Regions from separate parts of the Homo sapiens genome. Here region 2 is linked to region 1. The links are contacts of gene promoters, found by promoter capture Hi-C in blood cells and fetal thymus (Javierre and others, 2016). All regions are on one chromosome and are shown on one strand. Each heading gives the region's core, a stretch centred on a gene start or on the middle of the fragment in contact. The rest is flanking DNA. Distances are from core to core; before and after follow the strand shown.

The links. Contacts are between HindIII fragments. The CHiCAGO score rates a contact against its expected background, and 5 or more counts as called.
Region 2: a fragment that was not itself captured here is called in contact with the fragment with the promoter of ODF1 in region 1 in 1 of 17 cell types (M1 macrophages); the score reaches 5.3 in M1 macrophages.

Annotation. Positions count from the first base shown.
Region 1 is chr8:102,549,588-102,554,013 of GRCh38, forward strand. ODF1 (outer dense fiber of sperm tails 1) reads left to right here and starts at 2,002. Exons shown (of 2, transcript NM_024410.4): 1 at 2,002-2,460. The coding sequence starts at 2,141. LOC124901998 (a long non-coding RNA gene) reads left to right here. Exons shown (of 3, transcript XR_007061039.1): 2 at 111-222; 3 at 920-1,009. It overlaps LOC105375684 (a long non-coding RNA gene), which reads right to left and starts at 1,041. Exons shown (of 2, transcript XR_928478.3): 1 at 956-1,041. The HindIII fragment of the contact is 343 bases long and covers 1,667-2,009 here.
Region 2 is chr8:102,454,602-102,459,295 of GRCh38, forward strand. All of the region lies in intron 2 of LOC105375683 (a long non-coding RNA gene), which reads left to right. Among named protein-coding and RNA genes, the nearest start is that of UBR5, 44 kb to the left of the region's middle. The HindIII fragment of the contact is 2,177 bases long and covers 210-2,386 here.

The DNA.
Region 1 (4,426 bases), core at 752-3,251:
ACCCTCTTATCCACAGAATACTCCAGATTTCTACCTTAAAGTTGTCACCAGCACCACCTGTTCACCAAATCCCCAAACTTACTCTTCTCCCTGTGTTATTTTTATCTCAGTGGCACCAAGAGTCTGCCAAGCTTGAAAGCTGGAAGTCACCACTGATTCCTCCCTCACTCCATCCTCACTCTGTTCACTAAATCCTGTTGAATTCACCCAGATGGTCATTCAGTGAGTACATTTCAAGCACCTGCTATGTGCCAGGCATTGTGTTAGGTATCTACTGCGAAGCAAAAATAGACAAGGTCCTTGCCCTCGTGGCTTACAGTCCAGCTGGGGAAACAATATCATGAAGGAAATGTATCCTAAGTTAAGAGAGTGTTTAGTCTGGGAGACAGAGAAGGCTTCCCCAAGAAAGGGGGAGATCTAAAGGGTGCCTTAAGAATTAAATGGATGAAAGTCATAGGTGGGGAGTTCAATTTCTAAGCAGGCAGAACGTCCTGTGTATGAGCTCTGAATGAGGTGGAAGGAATGAGGAATGTCCTTCAAGGGACTAAGGAACGGCCTCTGGAAAGTGAGTGGTCTTCCAGGAAGGCCATCGTGGCTGAGGGGTAATGAATTGCAATAATACTAGGATGGGAGAGGAGAGTGGGGAAGTGGGAGAGGCCCCATTGCTCAGCACCTGGTAAAGATTTTGGTCCTTTTTTTGAGAGGACAGAGAAGACTTTTAAGGTGAGTGGGATGATGGGTGGGGAAGGTTGAGGAATGACAGATTTCTATATGAAAGTCGCTGTGGCTACAATGTGGAAAATGGATTAGATGGGGCCTGGGCAGAGGTGGGGGAAGGCTTTCCCATTGGCTTCCTCCTTGCCATCCCCATAGCCATGATCCCCAGTCCAGATTTTTGTTGTCTCTTCTTGTCTTGCAGCAGAAAACCCCACTACTATTGTCCCTAGCAACTTACCTTCAGTGTGGCTGTCTCACTTCTGACAAAAGAAAAGAAAATCAACAATCCTTCGTTGGGCTCAAAATAAAGTTCAGAGTCCTTAGTCTGGCTACAGGTCCCTTCAAACCTGGCCCTTGTCTCCCTCACCAGTGTCACATCCAACCACTTGTCATCAATACCTGAGCTCTAGTTCATACAAGGGAGACTCGAGAGCTGGACCGCAGTTTGAGGTGAAAGGACCAGAGGAGTAGAGGCACCGAGAGCCAAATCTGAGGCCGAATCAGAGGTCTAGGATGTTAACTGAACAGAAAGTAAAGGAAACTGGCCGAAGCGGGGGTTTCAGGCAGTTGGCTTCCAGCATCTTCAGGCGGTTGGCTACAAGAACATCAAAGACCAACATTTGGGAAGCACTCAGGGACAAGACATCCGGAGGCTTGGATGCAAGACCAAAGGTGTAGTTGATGGGAGGTAGTTCCCCAGGACAGGCCCCCGAGGACTGACAGATGGGAGCTTAAGGACAGGACCCCCAACCAGTAGAGAAATGAGGTTCCCGAACAGCCATGACCACAGCTGGCGCAGAATGGGCAGGACTCAGAGACTTGTAACTCAGAAGGTCAAGGACAATGGCTGACTTGAGGATGACTTGGTAGGAGGAGAATGATGAGAACATTCTTTATATTCTACCTGTCTGGAGACAGAATGAATTCTAGAACAAAAGGAGCAAGGCCAAGCTTCCAATCAAGGCTAGAGCTAGAAGGTCATGGAGAAAGGCGTGGGCAGCTCCTGCCTTCGCCTGCACCAAGTTCAACAAACACACAGTCATAGCCATGGCTGGTCCCCAGAGCACACACAAGGCAAGGATGTTAGTGGCCAGCCCCATGCACCCCGATGAGCTATGCTCGCTTGGGAGACCCATCCTCCTTGAAGGTGAGTGAAATCTCAACACGAGTATGGTTCTGAGAGTAGCTCTGTAACTCTGAGGATGGTCTCTGGAGACCATGACTGTGTACAGTTCACATGGTAACCAGAAGACTATGACATACTTCAGAAGGTGGTGAGGTCATAGAACACAAGCTTTAAAGTAAGTGAATCATGTGTGCCTCATTTATTTTTAAAAGCAACTTCTGAGAAGGGCTTAGAACAAATTTTTTCCCGGAGTGCCATTTCCCAAAGGTACTCACAGAACAATCAGGTGTGACCATAATGGCTGCACTGAGTTGTCTCTTGGACAGTGTCAGAAGGGACATAAAGAAGGTGGACAGAGAACTAAGGCAACTGAGATGCATCGACGAATTTAGCACACGGTGCCTGTGCGACTTGTATATGCACCCCTATTGCTGCTGTGACTTGCACCCATATCCGTACTGCTTGTGCTATTCCAAGCGATCACGCTCTTGCGGCCTGTGTGATCTCTACCCATGTTGCCTGTGTGATTATAAGCTTTACTGTCTGCGACCATCTCTCAGAAGTTTGGAGAGGAAAGCCATCAGAGCCATAGAAGATGAGAAGCGAGAGCTTGCCAAGTAAAATAACTTATTTTTAAATTTTTATAGTCGGTATATTAGCCTTATAAGTTGGAATAAGGAAAAATATGTGACAATCAATAGTTGAACAAAGATTAAAAGGGTTCAGGATAATGACCCTGGTGACTTAGGAAAGATTTAAGGAAAGAAGAGTAAATGAGTCCATGATGGGAATTGTAGGGTTCTCAAAAGACAATGTAATGATGTCGATTGGCAAGGTCGTCGGTGGTTTATAGCAAGAATGCCAGTATGATAAATAATGCGGCTTTAATGAAGGGAAGAAACAGGGGGTGTCATTAAAAAGCCATTGGAAGCAGCAAACTAAACATTTTTCCTGGTTATGAGTAAAGTGATTTGAGTATATTTGGACTTACAGAAATGACTACAGGAGAAGTAATAATAATAGATCAAATCCTTAATGTGTGCCAGAGGCTTTACAAGCAGGAGAGCAAATTGAACAGTAGAGGCATTGCCTTGGTTTTGTGGGAATATCATTCTCCTATCCCCCCACTCCAGGCAAAGACTTACCTTGTATCTGGAATTAGGTCTATCATGTTGGCCTCCCCTCTAACTCTAGCAAAGGTCTTGCAAATAAACTATGGCACTGAGTTGTAGCTTTCAGGATAGACTTGAAAGGCTTTTTAATTGAATTGGGTAATTAAAAAGAGTCAGTTTTTTAAAAAAATTTTTGTTTTAGATTATATTTTCTTTTTGCCTGGAGAAAACTTTCCTTTTCTAACTTTTTACATATGCCATTTAGTCTGTTACTGTTGATGAAAAAGATGGTTGAAAGTGCTGTCCCTGGTTAAATAAATAATACATTCATGCACTGGAATAATAAGTAAATATAGAAAGGATTGATGAAGCATCTTACATATTGATGTATTAAGTCAAACAAGCAAAGTGCAGAAAAACTGATAGACAGATGACAGATAGATAGATAGATAGATAGATAGATAGATAGATAGATGATAGATAGATAGAGTCTCTTGACAACAGTGACAGTGATGTTTCTTTGGAAAAAGCAATAGGAGGCCGGGTGCATTGGCTCATGCCAGTAATCCCAGCACTTTGGGAGGCGGAGGCGGGCAGATCACCTGAGCTCAAGAGTTCGAGACCAGCCTGGCTAACATGGTGAAACCCCATCTCTACTAAATACAAAAAAAAAAAAAAAAAAAAATTAGCCAAGCGTAGTGGCACGTGCCTGTAATCCCAGCTACTCGTGAGACTGAGGCAGGAGAATCACTTGAACCCAGGAGGCAGAGGTTGCAGTGAGCCAAGATTGCACCACTACACTCCAGACCGGGTGACAAAGTGAGACTGTCTCAAAAAAAAAAAAAAAAAAAGGATAATTATTGTCTAGGTCACCAGCCACCAATGGTCAGGAATGAACCTCCCTCATAGCCTGGGAGCTTTCACCTGTAAATTCATCTATACTCTTTGAACCAATGTTTGTTTTTATTTCTTAGGGCATCAAGTCACATAAATTGCTCACACTGTGAGGCAGGGACTCTTTTTAAAATATTTGGTCCAAGTTAAGGTTTCCTTGTGAGCAGATCAGTATCCACTCTCCTCCTACTTTTGGATACTTGAATACCCTTGTCCAGGTCTTTCCAGCCTCTGTCTTCCTGGCTTCTCTCCTATCCCCAGACTCTACCAATTAAAATCCCTCTCTGTCCTGTGCTGTCTACTCTCTTGATGCCTCTTTCAGAAGCCTTGTTTCTTGGCATGCAGTAGAAACAGCTTCAAGCTTAATTCTCGGCAGTGTAGTTTAGGCAAGAGGTAATGTTTTCTCTGGTTTGTGATGCTCTTCCTGACAGCGTCTGGGTCTTTGCCTATTTTTTCTCTGCCTGCAGGCAATATGTGAAGCTGGTGATGTCTTTACATTAATTTCTGGATCTCGGAAATGATAACTCCAAGTCCATTGTAGAAATGACCTCAGGCTTGTCCGCTTTATCTCTTCCAA
Region 2 (4,694 bases), core at 48-2,547, 96 kb before region 1:
AGAATAGAATAGAATAGAATAGAATAGAATAGAATAGAATAGAATAGAATAGAATAATAGAACAGAATAGAATAGGTTTATAAATGTAGTTGAAAGTGTAACATGCTAGAAGATGTGTAATTCTTTCTAAACCTATAGAATTGGTCATCATAGTTCATTATATAGTTCACTACTGTGGAGAACTTCTAGAGATTATTCAAAGACTCCCAAGCTTTTGCAATCAGCTCTTTAATCACACAGGTAACTAGTGAATTGAGCAGTTTGCTGGAATAGATTTTCAAATTTTACTTTCTGCTTGCTTAAACTGTCTTTATCACATGAAAAGTAAGTATGTGGTTTGATAATACACAATTGTTACTGTTGCTACTTAAAGATTTCTAAAATAGTTTACCATTGATGAAAATGAAATAAAGTATACTCTATTATTTTGAATAAAAATGTCTGCCTTTGCTTTTGTTGGGTCTAGCTTAATTTTAAAAATGTTGAAAAAAAAAGAAAGTACACTATGACTAAATTTTAATGCCCTGTGATCTTTCATTGCTAATGCAATTGGATACCAGCTCTCGGTGCTTCTAATGAGGGAAGATTGTGCCAATGAGAACCTGACTCCAACAAAGCTGAAAAAACAGCTGACATCTCCATATCCTGAAATATATCTCAGACAGTGTGGATTCATGAGAAGGATCCTGTCTGGGGAAGACTAGAATCTTGTCAAATGGATTCATCCCCAAATCAAGAACCTTATTTGGAAGCATCTTATAAGTTTTTTTTTTTTTTTTTTTTTTTTTTTTGAGAAGAGTTTTGCTCTTGTCACTCAGGCTGGAGTGCAATAGCATGATCTCGGCTCAGTGCAACCTCCACCTCCGGGGTTCAAGCAATTCTCCTGCCTCAGCCTCCTGAGCAGCTGGGATTACAGGCACACGCCACCACGCCCCACTAATTTTGTATTTTTAGTAGAGGCCAGATTTTGCCATGTTGGCCAGGCTAGTCTCAAACTCCTGACCTCAGGTGATCCACCCACCTCGGCCTCCCAAAGTGCTGGGATTACAGGCATGAGCCACCGTGCCCGGCCACATCTTATAAGATGTCTTATCCCATTACCAAGCCAAACAATATCTGTGTGATTGGAGAGATGTTGGTGAAGGCACATGTCTTGAAATTGGTCTCTTTGAGGGCTTGAAGCTGAGGCGGCAGAATATTTCCATTGGTGTCACCCACTCCAAAATGTGTAATATTCCTTTCTTATACTTTATATGTATAATATCTCTTATGTTTTAAAGCAGATCTTTGAATAATTGAAAGTGATACTCTTTCTCTGCAGCACGGAAAAGAACAAAACTACAAACATTTGTTTGTGGCTTTCTGGGTCTTGTGCATTATTTGCATACTGACCAATGCCCTCTAAATAAAAACAAAAATGAAAACAAAAACCATATTTCGTGAGACCATTTTGGAAAATATAGATTCTACTAACCTCTTCAAAACTGTGAAAAGCCTTTGCCAAGTACACATTGATGGAAAGAAAACTCCGGCTCGGGTCCTAGGAGGGACCCCTTTGAGGTGTGGCAGCCCATCCAGTCATACTGCCTTTTATTTTTTTATTTTTATTTTATTTATTTATTTTTTGAGACAAAGCCTAGCTCCGTCACCCAGGCTGGAGTGTAGTGGCGTGATCTCAGCTCACTGCAACCTCTGCCTCACAGGTTCAAGTGATTCTCCTGCCTCAGCCTCCCGAGTAGCTGGGATTACAGGCATGTGCCACCATGCCCGGCTAATTTTTTTTTGTATTTTTATTAGAGACAGAGTTTCACCATGTTGGCCAGGCTGGTCTTGAACTACTGGCCTCAAGTGATCCACCTGCCTCAGCCTTTCAAAGTGCTGGGATTACAGGTGTGAGCCACTGTGCCCAACCCCACACTGCCTTTTAGAGGAAAGCAGCTCTGCATGTTGGCCGGCATGCATTGGTGTCAAAGACCCTGTCAACAGCCTCAACCACATTGTCTACTGCTGTGGATATCTTCAACTTCCTGCAAGCCAGATCCTCGAATCACCATCTTTTCAAGAGGGTTTGTCAAATAATAGTAGCACAATATCATCAACTAGAGTAAGACAGGGTGATGAAGTCCTTATTGAACTTGAAGAGAAGCTCGTGTGTGTACTTAAGAAAAAAAAAGAAATGCCAGTTTTCCAAACAATTCTACTGGGAGGAATTCACTTACTGCTTGGTTTGTTAGGCAGATAGTTTGGTTGTACTGAAAGAAGAAAATCTTCCAGTTCAGGTCCTGGAATCACAAACATATTTCTGGTGCAGAAACAAAAACAAAAACAGAACTACAAGCTCTTTTGGCTAAGCCTATATACTTGGAAGAATAACTTGGAAGGACAAAGCTTCAGACTTTTCATCACTGAAGCAGATTCTTCTGCAGGCTGGAATTGAGTGTGACAAAGACACTTTCTCGATTTCTCTGCAGTCAGGAAACTGTGGTAACCGGAAAACCCTCAGAATACTTTGGAGTGTTACTTCTGTTTCAACAGTCTTCAAGTGGAAAGTGAATCCCTAATCCCTTCCCTGTTGACAAAGACAGCAGTAACAAGGCCAGTACTGCCAAAAATGACTTCATTGACTTGAGAACAAAGGAAATGAAATAACAGGAATTGAACTCAAAGAGTTGTAGAGGATCCTGGTGTTCTAATTTTTTTTTTTTTTTTTTTGAGATGGAGTCTCGCTCTGTGTCACCCAGGTTGGAGTGCGTGGTGCCATCTCGGCTTACTGCAACCTCCACCTCCCAGGTTCAAGCAATTCTCCCACTTCAGCCTCCTGAGTATCCGGGATTACAGGTGCCCATCACCACGCCCTGCTAAATTTTGTATTTTTTAGTAGAGATGGGTTTTCGCCATGTTGGCCAGGCTGGTCTTGAACTTCTGACCTCAGGTGATCTGCTTGCCTCGGCCTCTCAAAGTGCTGGGATTACAGGCGTGAGCCACCATGCCCAACCGATCCTGGTGTTCTTGATCCGAGCCCATCCTCAACTGGTCACCGGACCACAGATTCCATTTACTAACACAAACCTTTATGAGGCAGGGTTTCAACACTCATTTCCATCAAAGCAAGACTTAAAGTCAATTCTATGGTAATGAACATATTTGTCTTTTTTTTTTAAAAGATCACACACTTATTAAACCAAAGGGGCAGCATTGTTTTTGTTGAAATTACTTTTGAGCAGAATTAAAATTTACTTTTTGTTTTATTTTTCTCTATGTGCACAACTTGTATTTATTTTAATTTTAATTAAACATTAAAATTAATGTATTTTATTTACATTCATTTAATTTTTAAATTTATTTTAATTTTCAAGAAGTGGTCATTAGTTTTTGCTTGAAAAACCAAATCAGAAAAGCAAAACTTTTTAAATAATTTTCTAAGAGAAGGAAAAACATTTCCAAGGCAATACAGTTAATCATATGCAAAGTTTTATGTATGTATTTATATGCGTTTTTCTGGGAGCAAAGTCTATCGCTTTCATTAGACTCTCAGTGTGGTTCACAACTCAAGAAATGTTTTGAACCATCGGCATAATTGGAAATTACATCTTAGTTTTCATAATGTAAGTAAGAATCAAGATTGATTTTTGGAAATCTTTGGGTGGGAACACATGCACCCATTGATATCTACTTTCACCAATACTAAACATCTTTCATTTCCTCTCCTACCATCTAGGTTTTAGTACGTTTGATTTTGTTTTTTATTAGTGATTAGGGAATTTAAGCCCATTTTGTTTAGATGATCTTAGGTTGCTTTCATCTTTTTTAATTTAAATGAGTGAGTAGCAGTAAGGATAACTTTTAGGCCAGCTCATGCCTGCAATCCCAGCACTTTGGGAGGTCAAGGTGGGTGGATCGCTCGAACCCAGGAGTTCAAGATTAGTCTGGGCAATACAGTGAGATCTCTACAAAAAAAAAAAAAAAAAAAAGGAACTAGCCAAGCATGGTGGTGTGTGCCTGTAGTAGAGGCTGAAGTGGGAGGATGTCTCTTTTTTTTTTTTTTTTTTTCATGACCAGCTCTGTCACCACGCTGGAGTGCAGTGGCGCGATCTTGGCTCACTGCAACCTCAGCCTCCCAGGTTCAAGTGATTCTCCTGCCTCAGCCTCCCAAGTAGCTGGGATTACAGTCATGCACCACCACGCCCAGCTAATTTTTGTAATTTTTGTACTTTTAGTAGAGACAGGGTTTCGCCATGTTGGCCAGGATGGTCTCGATCTCCTGATCTCGTGATCTGCCCACCTGTGCCTCCGAAAGTGCTGGGATTATAGGTGTGAGCCACTGTGCCTGGCTTGATGTGGGAGGATCTCTTGAGCCCAGGAGTTCAAGGATGCTGTGAGCTGTGTTTGCACCACGGCACTCCAGCCTGGGTGACAGAGCTATATCCTGTCCCTAAATAAACTAATGAAAACTAAATATAAATTTTTTGAAGACCCTGTCTTATTAAAAACAAAAAGATAACTTAAGTGGAAGCAAAACACAGATACGATGTCCAGCTCTATTCATTTTGTGATTTTTTTTTTTTTTTTTTTTTTTTGAGATGGAGTCTCGCTCTGTCACCCAGGCTGGAGTGCAGTGGCGCAATCTTGGCTCACTGCAAGCTCCGCCTCCCGGGTTCATGCCATTCTCCTGCCTCAGCCTCCCGAGTAGCTAG